Linked DNA regions of Homo sapiens: all the other regions are linked to region 2. The links are contacts of gene promoters, found by promoter capture Hi-C in blood cells and fetal thymus (Javierre and others, 2016). All regions are on one chromosome and are shown on one strand. The core of a region is centred on a gene start or on the middle of the fragment in contact, and the rest is flanking DNA. Distances in the headings are between cores, read along the strand shown. Region 1 has its middle 10 kb from the start of ITSN2. Region 2 holds the start of SF3B6 (splicing factor 3b subunit 6). Region 3 has its middle 31 kb from the start of ITSN2. Region 4 overlaps ATAD2B (ATPase family AAA domain containing 2B). Region 5 overlaps ATAD2B (ATPase family AAA domain containing 2B).

What was found. The method cuts DNA at HindIII sites, captures the fragments that hold promoters and counts their contacts. A CHiCAGO score of 5 or more calls a contact.
Region 1: a fragment that was not itself captured here is called in contact with the fragment with the promoter of SF3B6 in region 2 in 3 of 17 cell types (endothelial precursors, M2 macrophages and M1 macrophages); the score reaches 6.6 in endothelial precursors.
Region 3: a contact is called between a fragment that was not itself captured here and the fragment with the promoter of SF3B6 in region 2, in 1 of 17 cell types (endothelial precursors). The highest score is 6.0, in endothelial precursors.
Region 4: a contact is called between a fragment that was not itself captured here and the fragment with the promoter of SF3B6 in region 2, in 13 of 17 cell types (naive B cells, total CD8 T cells, total CD4 T cells and 10 more). The highest score is 10.8, in naive B cells.
Region 5: a contact is called between a fragment that was not itself captured here and the fragment with the promoter of SF3B6 in region 2, in 3 of 17 cell types (naive B cells, monocytes and M0 macrophages). The highest score is 6.4, in naive B cells.

Annotation. Positions count from the first base shown.
Region 1 is chr2:24,369,131-24,372,490 of GRCh38, forward strand. No RefSeq gene overlaps it. Among named protein-coding and RNA genes, the nearest start is that of ITSN2, 10 kb to the left of the region's middle. The HindIII fragment of the contact is 3,412 bases long and covers 1-3,344 here.
Region 2 is chr2:24,074,626-24,078,498 of GRCh38, forward strand. It overlaps SF3B6 (splicing factor 3b subunit 6), which reads right to left and starts at 1,701. Exons shown (of 4, transcript NM_016047.4): 1 at 1,575-1,701. The coding sequence starts at 1,604. TP53I3 (tumor protein p53 inducible protein 3) reads right to left here. Exons shown (of 5, transcript NM_004881.5): 5 at 2,808-3,136. The coding sequence ends at 2,954. It also overlaps a transcript of FAM228B not described here. RefSeq lists enhancers at 987-1,519, 1,520-2,051, 1,586-1,815 and a silencer at 1,926-2,575. The HindIII fragment of the contact is 6,266 bases long and covers 1-3,873 here.
Region 3 is chr2:24,389,203-24,393,002 of GRCh38, forward strand. No RefSeq gene overlaps it. Among named protein-coding and RNA genes, the nearest start is that of ITSN2, 31 kb to the left of the region's middle. The HindIII fragment of the contact is 740 bases long and covers 1,292-2,031 here.
Region 4 is chr2:23,790,089-23,793,810 of GRCh38, forward strand. The region is part of intron 19 of ATAD2B (ATPase family AAA domain containing 2B); the gene reads right to left. Among named protein-coding and RNA genes, the nearest start is that of ATAD2B, 140 kb to the right of the region's middle. The HindIII fragment of the contact is 857 bases long and covers 1,595-2,451 here.
Region 5 is chr2:23,769,870-23,773,209 of GRCh38, forward strand. All of the region lies in intron 22 of ATAD2B (ATPase family AAA domain containing 2B), which reads right to left. Among named protein-coding and RNA genes, the nearest start is that of ATAD2B, 160 kb to the right of the region's middle. The HindIII fragment of the contact is 1,473 bases long and covers 982-2,454 here.

The DNA.
Region 1 (3,360 bases), core at 389-2,888, 290 kb after region 2:
TCACTTCCCATTTCAATAATTTCAGCAGGTGCTTTTCTTATGCCTTTGTATAGGGAAACATAAAACTCTTAATTTCGTATGTAAGTGACCAGGTATTTGTATCAGTTAAAATGTTTGGTTGCAAATAACGGGGATCAACTCAAAGGGCTTAGGCAAAAAAAGAATTAATTATATACAAGGTAAGTGGAGTGTGCCAGTGTCACCAAGGACAGGAGTGGGGCCAGGCAAAATGGAATTAGGGACTGAACACTGTCCAGGGACCCTCTCTGTCTCACCTCTGCACTTGTGCTTCATCTTCTCAATAGAGAGAGGGTGGGATGTATAGTGGAGCACAGATAATTTTTTTTTTTTTTTTGAGACACCATCTCATTCTGTCACCCAGCCTCAAGTACAGTCGTGAGATCATGGCTCACAGCAGTCTCAACCTCCCACACTCAAGTGATCCTCCCCCAACTTAGCCTCCCAAGTAGCTGGGACTGCAGGTGAGTGCCACCATGCCTGGCTAATTTTTTTTTTCTACATGTTGCCCAGGCTGGTCTAAAACTCCTGTACTCTAGCAACCCTCCTGCCAGCCCCCCAAAGTGCTGGGATTACAGGCATGAGCCATCACGCCTGGCAGATCACTCTTTTTTTTTTGAGATGGAGTCTCGCTCTGTCGCCCGGGCTGGAGTGCAGTGGTGCGATCTCGGCTCACTGCAACCTCCACCTCCCGGGTTCAAGCAATTCTTCTGCCTCAGCCTCCCGAGTAACTGGGACTACAGGTACATGCCACCACACCCAGCTAAGATGGATTGATATATTTTACTTCCTTTAGATGCTTAGGAAGAATCTAGGTGATAGCAAAGGGCTTTCTTTTACTATTGGATTTTGTCATTTGGAACAACAGGAGAGCGTAACTGAAATTGTATTACAACTCTAGCATTGTCTTCTTAAGTTCAATGTTCTTTCCTGGAACAGCAGCAATGTCATTGTTAGAAGATTAAAAATATAAAATTCTACCTTCAAATCAAAAAATTCTGGTTAGAATTATAGTAACTTCTTAGGGATTTACAGAAAGAACTGGCCGGGTGCACTAGCTCGTGCCTGTAATCCCAGCACTTTGGGAGACCGAGGCGGGTGGATTACCTGAGGTTGGGAGTTCAAGATCAGCCTGGCCAATATGGTGAAACTCCATTTCTACGAAAAATACAAAAATTAGCCAGGCGTGGTGGTGGCTGCCTGTAATCCCAGCTACTTGGGAGGCTGAGGCAGGAGAATCACTTGAACCTGGGAGGCGGAGGTTGCAGTGAGCCGAGATCGCGGCACTGCACTCCAGCCTGGGCAACAGAGGGAGACTCTGTCTCAAAAAAAAAAAAAAGAAAAAGAAAGGACCTTGAACTTTGTGCCTTTCAAGTTAGCCTTGCTTTTAATTTGATGTAGTGTGTAGTCTAAATGGATTCAGTTTTGTCATTTATAGGGTAAGCCTTGGGGCAGGGACCAGGTTTTGACATGTACTTATCAGCTTATACTACACTCTCAATATTTAGAAAATAATAATTAATGGTTGGGTATTGAGTGTTTGGCACAAAATCCTGACTCTAAGTATAATTAACTTTAAGAGCTATTTTGGTGTCTGATGAACGCTTTTCATAGCTTCTTAAATGAGTCAGGAATGTATCCCATGGCTGAGACATGTTGAAATTTAGAATACACAAATATAAATTGCCTAATGAACATGAACATCATGTGATTCTAATTTAAAAACTGTAAAAGGCTGGGCACAGTGGCTCACACCTGTAATCCTAGCACTTTGGGAGGCCAAGGCAGGTGGATCACTTGAGCACAGGAATTCAAGACCAGCCTGGACAACATGGTGAAATCCCATCGCTACAAAAAAAAAAAAAAATTAGCTGGACGTGATGGCATGTGCCTGTAGTCCCAGCCACCTGGAAGGATGAGGTAGGAGGATGGTTTGAGCTCAGGAGGCGGAGGTTGCAGTGAGCAGTGATCACACCACTGCAACTCCAGCCTGACGGACAGAGCCAGACCCTGTCTCAAAAACAAACAAGTTGTAAAAATACTGGAATTGGTATCATCAAGATTGGATTCAGTGTTTAGAAGCCCTAAACGCTGAAACACCCATGTATGAAATTAAATAAAAAGAAAAACATGAAATAACTTAGCCAGGTGTAGTGATGTGTGTCTGTAGTCCCAGCTACTTGGGAGGCTGAGGCAGGAGGATGGCTTGAGCCCAGAAATTCAAGGTTGCAATGGGTCAGGATCATGTCACTGAACTCCAGCCTGGGCAACAGAGCAAGACGTTGTCTCAAAACCCAAAAACAAAAACAAAAAAATTGCTTGATAACTATTTCAACACTTTTTTTTTTTTTTTTTTGAGATAGAGTCTCACTCTGTCACCAGGCTGGAATGCAGTGGCGCAGTCTTGGCTCACTGCAACCTCTCCCTCCCAGGTTCGAGTGATTCTCCTGCCTCAGCCTCCTGAGTAGCTAGGACTACAGGCATGTGCCACCACGCCCAGCTAATTTTTGTATTTTTAGTAGAGACAGGGTTTCACCATGTTGGCCAGGATGGCCTCGATCTCTTGACCTTGTGATCCGCCCGCCTCGGGCTCCCAAAGTGCTGGGATTACAGATGTGAGCCACTGCGCCCAGTTCAACACATTGTTTTTTGTTTTTGTTTTTTTTTGAGACAGAGTCTTGCTCTGTCGCCCAGGCTGAAGTGCAGTGGCACATGTCAGCTCACTGCAAGCTCCACCTCTCGGGTTCAAGCCATTCTCCTGCCTCAGCCTCCCAAGTAGCTGGGACTACAGGCACCTGCCACCACACCCAGCTAATTTTTTGTAATTTTAGTAGAGACGGGGTTTCACCGTGTTAGCCAGGATGGTCTCAATCTCCTGACCTCGTGATCCATCAGCCTTGGCCTCCCAAAGTGTTGGGATTACGGGCGTGAGCCACCGCGCCCGGCCCTCAACACATTTTTTATAAAAATGTGGAATTATTTCTAAATAACTATGTGTGTGTGTGTGTGTATGCAAATGTGCAGACAGGTATGCTCTAGGCCTGCCCTTGCTTGGCCAGGCCCAGGAGAATGTGCTTACTTTGCTTTTTTGGGTGCCCCTTTTGCAGCACCCTTTTTGGGTGTTCATTAGAACCCAGGATGTAGAGTAGACTGTGTAGACTTGGGTTCCTATCATGGAAACTCTAGGTGGGTAAGGCGGCAACCGAGAAAGCTACAGCCAAGTGTCAACTACTTTGTGACCATCTCAAGGGAGAGAGCTGTGCCAGGTATCTTCCAATTTATATGATAGGAGCTTAGTTTTATACTTGTGATGAGAATTTTGCCCAAGCTTGATCCTGACTG
Region 2 (3,873 bases), core at 451-2,950:
TCTTGTTTCTTGGAGAAAATAGACATGACCAATTGAAATACTTTTCATCTATATCCAACTACTTTCCCTCTATTACTACGCCAACCTTCATCTACTCAAAACCTTCACTTCTAAACTCAACCTATCTTTCTTCCATATCATGTTTCGCACACTCTGCTGGATTGCTCCCATTGGCATAAAGATACACCTATATCACACATCTTTTAAAAAGTCAACTATCTGGCCGGGTGCGGTGGCTCATGCCTGTAATCCCAGCGTTTTGGGAGGCCAAGGCAGGTGGATCACTTGAGGTCAGGAGTTTGAGACCAGCCTGGCCAACACGGAGAAACCCTGTCTCTACTAAAAATACAAAAATTAGCCGGGCATGGTGGTGGGCACCTGTAATCCCAGCTACTCAAGAGGCTGAGGCAGGAGAATTGCTTGAACTCAGGAGACAGAGGTTGCAGTGAGCCAAGACTGTGCCACTGCACTCCAGCCTGGGTGACAGAGTGAGAGTCCATCTCAAAAAAAAAAGTCAACTATCATCCAATTTCCCTACTTCCTATTTAAATGAGAACTCATGGACAGAGTGTCTTTGCTGTTTCCATTTTCTCAACTTCCACCATCTTTTCACCCCACTGCAATCAAGTTTTCATCCACTGAAATGATTCCTATCATCAAGGTCACCAAAAGTCTCCATTTACATATACAATGGTCAATTGCTTGTCTTTTCTTTCTTTCTTTCTTTCTTTCTGTTTTTTTTTTTTTTTTTGAGTCAGGGTCTTGCTCTGTCTCCTGGGCTGAAGTGCTGCGCAGTGGCACAATCATGGCTCAAGGCAGCCTTGAATTCCTGGGCTCAAGCAATCCTCCCACCTCAGCCTCCAAAAGTGCGGGGATTACAGGCATGAGCCACCTCACTCGGCCTAACTTCATCTTACACCTCTAAGCGTTTTACTGTTGACTAATCTCTTTTTTGAGTTTTTTTTTTTTAAAAGTTTCCGTAACACTGTACTCTCAAACACTAGAATGTAAGCAGAAGGACTTGTTTTATTCACTGCTGTATTCCCAATACGTAAGACTAGTGTCTGGCACATAGTAGCTATTCAATAAATATAATTGATGAATTATGTCCCACATGGCAAGCAGAATACATAGTAGGTGCTCAAAAAATATTGTTTTAATTAATGTGTTAATGAAGGATCCGAAAAGCACCATGATCTGAGGGGAATCCCAGGTCCTAGTTGTTGGTGAACCATTAAGTTAGTTGAGGACTCTTCTGAGATATCGACTTTAAGTCAAGGAGATAATCCTAACGCCAGGTCCTTAGGTGCGGGTCAAGCAAAGAGGCTATAGGGGTAACACTATCACTGACACTAGGGTAGAGACTGAGGAACTCTCAAAAGGGGTGGGGACAGAAATGTGGCTCAAGGAGCATATCTCTGAGGATGGGGCCGGATAGTGTCTTCGCTGACAGGATAGGAATTCTGGAGTTCTCCGCTCTGGGGACGGAGGAGGAGCAAGAATGCTCCGATCCACGCCGCTAAGAAAGTCAAACCCGAAGTTCTCCCACCCTCCGCAGAACACCCGATACTCACGTTCGCCCTCTTGGCCGCTTGCATCGCCATCTTGGCGGGCTGATGAAGTTACCGTAGCAGATACTGAAATTCCTCCGGAGCTCGCTCGGCTTCGGGGGTTACACCGCGTTAGATGCAGGACATCAACATCCAGGACCCGCCGGAAGCTGTTACAGCGGAATAGCGCCGTCTTACGCTGAGACGCGCTGACGTAGCAGCCCCCTTCGAATAGACTCCGGGGTAAAACCGAGCCTGAGCGAGACTCGAGGCCGGAAGATGGAAAGGCGAGAGTCCAAGACACTTCCGGGCTCTGTACCGTAAAGGGCGGGGCGTAGCCTCCAAAAGGCGAGATGTTCCGGTCGGGGAGGCCCTGAGCAGAGGAACCCGGGTGGAGAGGGCGGGGCCTGAGGAGGGCGGAGAGCTGGGGCGGGTCTCAGGTGAGTAACTGGGGAGCGGAGGAGGCGGGGCTTGAGCAGGGTTATGACAGGTAGGGCGGGACCCAGGTGAGTAGCGGGAGGGGGCGGGGCCTGAGGAGGGTGCGGAGAGCTGGGGTGGGGCCCAAGTGAGTATCCGGGAGGGAGCCGGGCCTGAGCAAGGCGGTGAGCTGGGGCGGGACCCAAGTGAGTAATGGAAGGGGCGGGGCCTGAGGAGGGTGGTGGCGGTGGGGCGGGGCCCAGATGTGTAGCGGGAGGTGGTGGGGCCTGAGGAGGGTGGCGAGAGGTGGGGTGGGGCCCAGGTGAGTAGCGGGCGAAGGCGGGGCCTGAGGAGGACTGAGCTGGGGCGGGACCCAGGTGAGTAGCGGAAGGGATCGGGGCCTGAGGAGGGTGGTGGAGGTGCGGCGGGGCCCAGAAGTGTAGCAGGAGGTGGTTGGGGCTGAGGAAAGTGGTGGAGGTGGGGCGGGGCTCAGATGTGTAGCGGGAGGTGGTGGGGCCTGAGGAGGGCGGCGAGAGGTGGGGTGGGGCCCAGGTGAGTAGCGGGCAGGGCTGGGGCCTGCTGTGGTGCCCACTGGTTGCGGGGCGCGCGGGCAGGTGCCGGAGGTGGTGGGCCTGGGCCTCTAGCTGTGCGCAAGGCGGAATATGTGGGGTTCTGGCGGCTTGTGTCACGGCTGACGCTGTAACTATACCCAGAATCTCCGTCCCTGGAGGGGCCCTCAGGTTGAGCGTCAGCTGATCGGGCCTCAGTAATCCCCGCTGCGACGCCCGTCCGGACTCCCACCTCAACCCCGCCGCGGCGGCCCCAGTCCGCGTGCCACCCTTCCAGTTCACTCTTTATTTCCTCATATCAGCTTTAAACGGCTCTGGAGGAAGCACCGGGTTTCTTGGCCTGTCTATTGTGAATCTTCTCCAGGTTTGCTCTGGAAAGGCCTGGGGTGGCCGCGTCCTGTCCTGCCCCATCCTCCTTCACTGGGGCAGTTCCAGGACGATCTTGCCTATGTTCTTGTTGGCCTCCATGTACTTATGGGCCTCCTGGATTTCGGTCACTGGGTAGATTCTGTCCAGAACCGGCAGCAGACGTTGGGGGCCCTCCGTGGAGAAGTGAGGCAGAATTTGCTCCGTGAAAGCATTCACCAGCATTTGCTTGTACTAAGACAAGGGAAAGGAGATCATCAGCCTGGGGAGAGAGCCTCACCCTGCCCTCCTCATCCTCCTCAGCCTTCTTGCTCTCTCTGAAGCCACGTATCTGAAAAAGCACACAGGGACACTTAACCCCTCACTTCCTAGCATGTGTGTGAAATACCCTTGAAGGAGTCATGTGCCATCTCAGAATATGTCCGATAGGTATATTGTTAATTTTGAGGTGAAAGCATTGGAGAAATTGTAGTTTCAGAAAAGGCTAGCTGACCTGTCTCTTCTTGCATGTAGCAAGTCATAAAGATTCCTCTGAGAGGGGTACCCTCCCCATACTAGGGCAAAAAGCCCTTATCACCAGAGACTGGAAACGGGGCTGCAATGGAACTGAATAAATACACTTAAGGAAGTAACCCTTATCTTCCACTAGTTTTACACCCCCCACCCCCATATATCTCCTAGTGACTTCCCTAGAAATTTACTATCCCTAGCCAGATTTTGTCTTATTTCTTCTCAAATTTATTGTTCTTTGTCTAAAAATTACAAAAGCATCTTACTTTGGCCGAATCACTTGAGCCTGGGAGTTTGAGATCAGCCTGGGCAACATGGTGAAAACCTGTCTCTATAAAAAATACAAGCCAGGCATGGTGGTATGCCTTCAGTCTTAGCTACCCAGGAGGCTGATTGTGCCATTGCACTCCAGCCTGGGTGACAGAGTAAGACCCTGTCTCCATAAAAAAAAAAAAAAAAAA
Region 3 (3,800 bases), core at 412-2,911, 310 kb after region 2:
TACAGGCATGAGCCACCGTGCCCAGCCCCATTTTTAATTTTTGAGGAACCACCGTAACTGTTTTCTGCAGCAGCTTCACCATTTCACATTCCCACCAACAGTGCACAAGGATTCCAATTTCTCCACATCCTCGACAATGCTTGCTATTTTCTGGAGTTTATTTATTTATATAGTTTTAAAAATGAGATGGAGTTTAGCCATGTTGTTCAGGCTGGTCTCAAACTCCTGAGCTCAAGGGATCTGCCTGCTGCAGCCTCCCAAAATGCTAGGATTACTGGCTTGAGCCACTATGTCCAATCCTGGAGTTTGTTTTGTTTAGAGTAGCCATCCTAATAGTGTGAAGTGGTATCTCACTGTAGTTTTGATTTGCAATCCCCTAATGATTAGTGATGTTCCCCTCCTTTTCTTTTCATTTTGCCTTCTTTTTTTTTTTTTTTTTGAGACGGAGTCTTGCTGTGTCGCTCAGGCTGGACTGCAGTGGCGCTATCTTGGCTCACTGAAACCTCTGTCTCCCGGGTTCAAGTGATTCTCCTGCCTCAGCCTCCCGAGTAGCTGGGATTACAGGCACCTGCCACCATGCCCAGCTAATTTTTATATTTTTAGTATAGACGGGGTTTCACCATGTTGGCCAGGCTGGTCTCAAACTCCTGACCTCAGGTGATCCACCTGCCTCGGCCTCCTAAAGTGCTGGGTTACAGGCGTGAGCTACCACACCCGGCTGCCTTCATTCTTAAAGGATGTTTTGCTGGCTATAGAATTCTGGATTGATTTACTTTTTTCTGATCCTATACTTGAAGATATTGTTTCACTGTCTTCTGATATCTATTATTTATAAGAAGAAACAGCATTCATTTGTATCATCATTCCCTGCATATAGTGAGTTGTTTTCTCTGGCTTTCAAGATTTTCTCTTTATCTTTGGTTTTCAGCATTTTGACTATACTGTGTGCAGGTATGGTTTTCTTCATATTTTTTTTTTTGGTGGGGAGAGGGTTACTTAGCTTCTTAAATCTATAAATTTATCTTTCAACCTATTTAGAAAATTTCAACCTCTTTTTCTTCAAAATAATTTTTCTGTCCCATATTCTCTTCCTTACTTCTGAGACTCCAGTTACACATATTTTAGCTCTTTTGCTATTTCCCCTCAGTTTCCTGAGAGTCTATTCATTCCCGCCCTCTCCCATCCATTTTCTGTCTGTTACTTAGATTGAGTAATTTTTATTGATTTCTCATCAAGTTTTCTGACTTTTTTCTCCTGTCACCTTCAATCTGCTTCTAAGCCTGTCCAGTAAAGCTTTAAATTTCAGATATTAAACTTTTCAATTGTATAATTTACATTTGGTTACTATAGTTTTTATTTCTCTGCTTGTATTTTCTTTCATTAATTATGAGTAATATTTTCCTTTATATATGTACTCTGTTTGGCACAATTTTAATAGCTGCTTTAAAGTCTTTGTTATAACTCAACATTTGATGCATGTCAGCATCAGACTCTTGAGTACTGGGGTCACATTTCATTTTTATGTCTAGTAATTTCAGATTGTACCTTGGATATTGTAAAAGATACCTTGTAGAAGTTTTGGATTCTGTCACATTTCTCCAAAAGGGTTTGTTTGTTTGTTGTTTTAAGTAGGCAATACATATATCCCTTTCTTCTTTTGTTTAAATGTCAATTTTAGTTTTGCCAGTTGGGTGCAGTGGCTCATGCCTGTAATCCCAGCACTTTGGTAGGTGGAGGCAGGAAAATCACTTGGGCCCAGGAGTTTGAGACCAGCCTGGGCAATGTAGACAGACATCATCTCTACAAAAAATAAGAAATTCGCTGGATATGGTGGCATGCACCTGTGATCCCAGCTACTTGGGAGGCTGAGGGAGGAGGACCCCTTGAGCCTAGGAGGTCAAAGTTGCAGTGAGCCATGATCATGCCATTGCCCTCCAGCCTGGGTGAGACCCTGTCTCTAAAAAATAATAATAATAATTTTTGTCAAAGTGAGATATACACATAATTTTAAAAAGTCTAACACAATGACAAAGCTTGTAATGACAATAGTAGAACACTATACCACCATTTCCACCCTGAAACCTGCCCCTCAGGAAGAAAAACTTTTAATTCTTTCAGCTGTTTCTTCTATTTACATCTACTTTTCTAAAAATATTTCTAAAAATATTCATATATATAGATATACACACATAATTTTCATATGTACATATATATGTATATTCATATATACACACACACTTTTTTTTTTGAGACAGGATCACTCTCTGTTGCACAGGCTGGAGGGCAGTGGCGTGATCATGGTTCACTGCGGCCTTGAACTCCTGGGTTCAAGTGATCTTCCCACCTCAACCTCCTGAGTAGCTGGGACTGCAATTGTGCACCACTATGCCTAGCTAATTTTTAATTTTTCTTTTGTAAAGACAGGGTCTCACTATGTTGAACAGGCTGGTTTCTAACTCCTGGGCTCAGGTGATCCTCCTGCCTCGGCCTTCCAAAGTGTTGGGATTACAGGCATGAACCACCATGCTTGACCTCTCATATTTTTATTTATATGTTATCTATTGACGTTCTATTATGGAGTCACAAAATTTAGCACACTTAAAACCTCCTTCCCTCTCTTCATACTCCCAATATATTTGTAGTACATTTTTGTTTATATCAATATTTATACTGTTTATATTATCTCACTATATAACACTTGCTCAATGTTAAGCCAAGTAATATAATACTGATAAGATAAATTTTTATTCATATTAGAATTAATAATTGCCCTGTGGGTTGTTTTAGCAGTTTTCTATGTAATAATTACTAGTTCAACCTTAAACTTAGCAATATAATGGTGATACCCCTCTGAATGTTGATAATTCCTATTGCCTTCAGCTATGCCTGGTATCCCTATGTTTAGATGCTGTAAGTTTCTTAACACACAGTCAGTCTTCTGCTGGAGTGGGAAAGAAGGTCCATCTGTCTTTGAAAAAGGAGTTCTGGCCGGGGCCGGTGGTTCGTGCCTGTAATCCCAGCACTTTGGGAGGCTGCGGCAGGTGGATCACTTGAGGTCAGGAGTTCGAGACCAGCCTGGCCAACATGGCAAAACCCTGTCCCTGCCAAAAATATAAAAAATTAGCCAGGTGTTGTGGTGCACACCTGTAGTCCCAGCTACACAGGAGGCTGAGGCAGGAGAATCGCTTGAACCTGGGAGGCAGAGGTTGCAGTGAGCTGAGATCACACCACTGTACTCTAGCCTGGGTAGGCAACAAAGTAAGACTCTGTCTCAAAAAAAAAAAAAAAAAAAAAAAAGAAAAGAAAAGAAAAATGGAGTTCTAGGGGTCTGAGTGAGCCATGTAAGGTTTTTCAATGGATCCTTCTCTTTTCATCTGTAACATGAATTTCTGCCTTTAGAGATACCTGGTGCCTCCAAATTCTGAGCATGTCCAAGATCCTCTGGCAATATCAGTTTTCTTCTCATTAGCATACTCTTGGTTTTAAGCTTTCATAATTTGAGTAACACTAGTAATTTCTATCTTCCAGAAATCTGCTGACATTGCTTGTCTGCACCTGTGTTCGTTCTGTGTTTTGTCCCTCCACATCCATTAGCCATATTTTTCTGCCCCGCTCCGTATCCTGAGAAGATAACACCTATGGACTTGCACTCCTTTGATTTTTGGCATCCAGTTCGATTCAGCTAACTGGAGTGACTGGAAGAAGAATGCAGAGTGGGAGGGGATAGAATAATAGATGTAAGCGCATTTATTGCCATTGCTGTGCCCCCTTTTTATGTGCCTCTTCCCTGGAGGCTGCTG
Region 4 (3,722 bases), core at 773-3,272, 280 kb before region 2:
CTTTAATCAATGCTTTGATGGCCTTTCTTTGAAAGTTCTGGAAGTAAATTTACTACTGAACATGCTTTGTATGTCAAACATCATGCCAGACACTGCAGTTATAAAACTGAAGAAAATGTCTTTGTTCTCTGCTGTCAAAGATTTTAGAGTATCAGAAGAAAAGCATTATGATACTATGCTGGGAGTACTGTAACAGAGGTAGCAAAACAGAGCAGAGACCTTGCAAGGGGTGAAAAGACACTAGGTAAGATGTACCAGAAATCACTTATATCAATTGGGTCTTGAAAAATAAGTAGAACTTAATATCCTAGACGTACCACGATTTCGTTCAAGAATGGCAAAACATTTCATTTTAACTATTTTCTCTGATAATTTTCAATACTATGTTAACACTTTATGAATACAAAAGCATACCAAGAACAGGCCTACAATAATCCATGGATATTCTTACCAGGTTACTACCAACACCTTAGAATCCAACATTTTATAAGTGGGATAAATTATACTTCTCTAAGTTCACTCCTAACTTTATCTTCTGACAGTCCTAGCCTCAAACTTCATGGTGTACCAAAGACAAGCCTTCCATAATTCCCAGAACAAATCACGCTCTGTTTCACATTGGTTCACACTGGTTGTGATACATAGTATTCACTCATTCCTGACCCCTTCTTTAATGCACCACTCAAGCTGATGCTTTCTGTGTGATGCCTTCCCTAACTTTCCCAGATGCACTTAGGCACACCTTCCAATATTTCTGAAAAAACAGTTCAATAATGTTCAGTAAATTTTTACAGATGTGTAGCCATCACAAGCACATTTTAGAACATTTCCATTACCCCAAAAAGTTTCCTCAGGCCTATCTGCAGTCAATCCCCACTCCCACTCCCATGTCCCAGCCTAACAACCACTGATAATGCTTTCTGTCTCTAGAGAATTGCCTCTTCTAGACATTTTGTATCATACAACTGACAGTCTTTTATGCCTGGCTTCTGTCACTTAAAACTTCAGGTTTTTCCAAGTTGTAGTATGTATTAGTATTTCATTCCATTTATTGCTGAATAGTATTTCATCACATTTTGTTTAGCCATTCACCAATTAAGGAACATTTGGATTGTTTCCACTTTTTGCTAGTATGAGTACAACAACTAGAAACATTCCCATACAAATGTCTTTCTGTGAAAGTATGTTTTCATTTCTTTTGTGTAGATAACTAGGAGTGGAATTGCTGAGTCATACCATAAATTTATGTTTAACTTTGGAAAGTGGCTGCACCATTTTACAATCCCACCAGCAGTATATAAGGACTCCAGTTTCTATATCCTTGCCAATACTTGGTATTCTTTATTTTTGATTACAGCTATTAGGTTGGTGCAAAAGCACTTTTTTTTTTTTTTTGCAGCTTTCAATGGCAAAAAACGCAATTACTCTTGCCCAACCTATATTTTAGTGGGTTGCAGTGGTATTTCATTCCTGAATGACTGATAATGAGCATCTTTTCATACACTTATCATCCATTTACATATACTCTAAGGAACCTCATATAAAAGGAATTATACAAAATTTGTCCTATGACTAAGTTAGCATAATGTCTTCAAGCTTCATCCATGTTACAACATGCATCAAAATTTTCTCCTTTTTAAGGCTAAATAATGTTCCATTGTATATGCTACATTTTGTTTATCCTTTCAACTATCAATGGACACTGAGGATGTTTCCACCTTTTGGTTACTATGAATGATGCTGTTGTGAACATGGGTGTGCAAATACCTGTTCAAGTCCCTGCTTTCAATTCTTTTGAGTAAGTACCTAGAACTTGATTGGCTGGATCATATGGCATTTATATATTTAAGATAATGTCATACTGTTTTCCACAGTGGCTATACAATTTTACATTCCCACCAGCAATGCAAAAAGGTTCTCCTTTTTCCACATCCTCATCAACATTTGTTAATTTCTGTTTTTTTTTAATAACAGCCATCTTTTTTTTTTTTTGAGACGGAGTCTTGCTCTGTCGCCCAGGCTGGAGTGCAGTGGTGCAATCTCGGCTCACTGCAAGCTCCGCCTCCTGGGTTCACGCCATTCTCCTGCCTCAGTCTCCCAAGCAGCGTGCCACCACGCCCAGCCTAATTTTTGTATTTTTAGTAGAGACGGGGTTTCACTACGTTGGCCAGGATGGTCTCGATCTCCTGACCTCGTGATCCACCAGCCTCAGCCTCCCAAAGTGCTGGGATTACAGGCATGAGCTATGGCACCTGGCCAACCTTTTTGTTTTATCGAATTTATTAACACATTCCTTAGAATTGTTAGTCCCCAGTTTTGAAGGTAGGGTTCCTGCAACCTTTGTAATAAGAAAAATTAATGGTTAAGAACTTAAGATCTAAAAAAAAAAAAAAGAACTTAAGATCTCAATAACAAAAGGTGTGAAAAAGAGGTCAGAAATAAACCTAAGAAAGCTTTCATAAATAAAATTTGCTTTGCTCAAAACAAAATAGGATATCAACCCATTAAATAAAAATAGAAATAGTTTACATATCTCAAAATAGTAACTATGTTTACCTACTATCCTATTTCACTTAGGGAAAAAAAACTTGTGGCCGGGCACGGTGGCTCACACCTGTAATCCCAACACTTTGGGAGGCTGAGGTGGGTGGATCACGAAGTCAGGAGATCAAGACCATACTGGCTAACACAGTGAAATCCCTTCTCTACTAAAAATACAAAAAATTAGCTGGGCGTGGTGGCGGGCGCCTTTAGTCCCAGCTACTCCAGGAGGCTTAGGCAGAAGAATGGCGTGAACCCGGGAGGCAGAGCTTGCAGTGAGCCGAGATTGTGCCACTGCACTCCAGCCTGGGCAACAGCGAGAGACTCTGTCTCAAAAAAAAAAAAAAAAAAAAAAAAAAAACTTGAGAAGATTTCCTTCCTCTTAAATTTTAAGAATCACGTAATTGTTTTATTACCAAAATATTAATATTAAAACAGTTCCCTTGTATCTTATGATCATTAATCTGAGTTTTCAATGCCCCTACTTGATTTTTCTAATTGAAGTTACTGATTTTCCCCTCCCAGGTCCTACCATAAACCTAGAGAGACAATGACAAGAAACATTTAAGATAACAAAATGCTATATGTAATCTTACTTTCATCAGCATAGCTGAGGAATATTTCTTTAAAATTCATTTCCAATATACTGAATTATATAATCTTAAACCTGCTCATAATAATTTAATAACAAAGCAGATACTGTGAATGTCTTCAGAAACAGAAATACAATTCTGGCCAAGGTTTACATTCCTTCCTACAAATATCTCTAATTTATTTGCTTCCTCCCTTAAGAGTCTTTTTTCTGTGCTCAACCTTAAATTAACTCTCTTCTCTAATTCTCCATAAATACCTTGCAATTCCCATATATCTCAAATAAAATTCTCCAAGTATCTTCAGAAAGGGTTTATAAAAGTAAATTTACTTACACTACAATTCTGCATGGTTCTCAAGTGGTCAAAAATTTAAAGAAAAAATATTTTAAAAGAAAGAATTATGCAGAAAGCGAGTGAGGCTGGGCAAGGGTTACTTAAATCCTACGTGATGATTCAACTGTTAGTTCCTTTTTTCATGCAGCAAACTTTTACAGAGTAATTCCAATGTGTTAGCACTGTGCTAGGAATGGGAGAAATGATGGCCAGTAACACCTGAAAGTGCTAGTGGTCTAGAGACCAGAGGTGCAC
Region 5 (3,340 bases), core at 468-2,967, 300 kb before region 2:
GACAGGGATTCACCATGTTGGCCAGGCTGGTCTCCAACTCCTGACCTCAGGTGATCCACCCACCTTGGCCTCCCAAAGTGCTAGGATTACAGGCGTGAGCAACTGTACCCGGCCTCACTGTGGTCTTAATTTGCATTTCACTAAAGATTAATGAGGTTGACCGGACACAGTAGCTCACATCTGTAATCCCAGCACTTTGGAAGGCCGAGGCGGGCGGGTAACCTGAGGTCAGGAGTTCGAGACCAGCCTGGCCAAAATGGTGAAACCCCATCTCTACTAAAAATACAAAAAAAAAAAATAGCTGGGCATGGTGGTGTGTGCCTACAATCTCAGCTACTCGGGAGGCTGAGGCAGGAGAATTGCTTAAACCCAGGAGGCGGAGGTTGCAATGAGCTGAGATCATGCCACTGCACTCCAGCCTAGGTGACAGAGCAACTCTGTCTCCAAAAAATAAATAAACAAATAAATAAATAAATAAAAAGATTAATGAGGATGAGTATCTTTTCATGTGTGTATTTGTCTTCTGTATATCTTATTTGGTAAAGTGTCTTCAGCTCTTATGTCCATTATTTAAATTGGGTTATTATTAAATTCTGAGACTTAATATTCTGGCTATAGGTTTTAAGTTCTTGTATACAGGTATGTGATCCATTGTGAGTCAACTTCTGCATACAAAGTCTTTTTTTGCATGCTGATATCCAATTGTTCCAACACTGTCTATTGAAATTTAATCTACTTTCTTCATTGAACTGACTTTACATCTTTGTCAAAAAGCAATTGACCCTCTATGTGTGCATCTATTTCAGGACTCTATCCTATTCCATTGACCTATTTGTCAAACTTCATGCCAACATACACTGTCTAGATTACTGTAACTTTTTAAGTCTTACAATAAAGTAGTATTAAGTCTTCCAGCTGTTTTTATTTTCCAAAGTTGTTTTGACTCTAGGTCCTTTTCATCCTCATATGAATTTTAGAATAAGCTTGTCAATTTCTATCAAATGCCTGCTGGAATTCTGATAGGATGGTGTTGAACCTGTGGTTCAATCTGGAGAGAAATTACATTTTCATAATGTTGAGTCTTCCAATCCATAAGCCATGACATATATCTCCATTTATTTGGGTCTTCTTTATCTCACTAATATTTTATAGTTTTCAATGTATAAGTCTTACATGCCTTTTGTCAGATTTATCTATATTTCATGTTATTTTTTGATGTTATTTCAATTTCCTGTTTGTTGCTAGTATATAGAAAAACAAGTGTTTTACATGCTGATCCTGTCTCCTGCAACCCTAACTTCACTTACATGTTCTAATAACTTCTTTAAATATTCCATAGGATTTTCTATGTAGACATCATACGTCTACAAACAACAACAGGTTTACTTCTTTCTTTCTGGAAGTAGGGATGCCTTTATTTCTTTTTCTTACCTTACTGCATTGGCTGAAAGCTCCAGTTTAATGTTGATAGAAGTGGTAAGAGCAGACATCCTGGTCATGTTTCTGATCTTAAGGAGAAAGTACTTACTCTTTCATCACTAGTATGATGAGAAATGTAGGCTTTTTGTAGACATCATTTATCACTGAACTGAAAAGCGGGGATAGGGGGAATAATTTTGTTCCAGTAAAAAAATTTGACTTACAAAAACAGGCTGTCAGCTTGATGATAGTCTGCTGACCCCTGGTTTAGAGCATCTACTTTTAATGTGATGTATGTGATTATTGATATGGTTGCTATTTATTTTCTACTTGGCCTATATGTTTTTTGTTCCCTTTTTCCTCTTTTTCTCACTTCTCTTGGAATTACTGTATACCTTTTTATGATTCCATTTTATCTCCTTGTTGGTTTATTAGCTCTAACTCTATTGCGGCCCCTGTGTGAACTTTAAGGAATATTCCCTCTCCTTCTCTGGCCTCAGATAGTTTTCTCACACATATGCACTAACCAGTACTTAGTTAAACACTAGGGTAGGACCTCCTGGAGATAGCCAGAGTGTTCTCTCTGTGCAGCTTTCTTCTTTCTGGTAATCTGCCCTGCAAACCCAAACCACTGTGGCCTCTTCAGATTCCAGGTCTGGCTCCCCAGTTCAGAGGACCTCCAGAATATGCCTGGGCTGCTCCTCCTGGGGCTGGTATCTGGAAATTGTCTCCAGGCAACCACACTACTCCTCTTATTTGTTTCTATCTTTTGGGAATCACTGTCCTGTGTTGCCTGGTGTCCAATGCCTTCCAAACAGTTTTTCTTTAAATATATTTTGTTCATTTTTTTTTTCATTGTGTCATGTGAGGGGGTAAATAAATCGAGTCCCTTTTACTTCATCTTGGCCAGAAGAAGAAAAGAAGAAGTCTCCTGGTGTCTTTTAAACACTCTTTGAAAACCAAACTTTAATAGTTGTGCAACAATCCAAAGTAGGATGTGCCTTAATTTTTCAAAAGTATTGTTCTCTTTTTGGAAGCTTTAAGTTGCTTCTAATTTTAGCTACTATAAATAAAAAACTACAATGAACATCAACATCCTTAGAAGTAGCTATACTTTCAAGTTGACAATACAATGTTTGTAGCCTATGCAATACCACAGCTTTCCACCACTGGCTTTCTACCTCGGCTTGAATGAAGAGAAACTAAAAAAAAAGGTAAGATTAAATCTAAAGGTATGGATCTGGCATATTGTCTCTAAAATAACTCAATGATTGGTCTTTCTGCTTTTTATAAAGTGTATCTTCTATCCCAACACTACCCTAAATTAAGCAAGAAAAAAGAATAAATGAAGAAAAAAAATCCATAAAAATTTCCCACTAGTATGGAAGACAAGGAATATATTCTTTTAAAAAAATCTGCATTTGAGAGGGAACACTGCTTTTTTGGGGGGATGGGGGTGGGGGACAAGGTCTCACTCTGTCACCCAAGCTAGAGTGCAGTGGCATGATCATGCCTTATAGCAGCGTCAACCTCCTGGCCTCAAACAGTCCTCTCTGCCTCAGTGCCCCGAGCAGCTATTAATAGGACCACAAGCATGCGCCACCACGCCTGGCTAATTTTTGTACTTTTTGTAGAGATGGTGTCTTGCCATGCCCAGGTTTCACACTGGCCTCACATTCCTGGGCTCAAGCGATCTGCCTACCTCGGTCTCCCAAAGTGCTGGGATTACAGGTGTGGGCCACTGTGCCGGGCCAAGGCATTGCTTTTTCATGTGCCTATCATTATAATTCTTTTCAATCATTGTTTAGAAGATTGTCTAAGATTATACATAGCATATAATCACAAACTTAGAAGAATATTCAAAGTAGAAGGGATGTCTATGATAATCCTAGGTTCTTAATCTTTTTGACCTGGATTCATA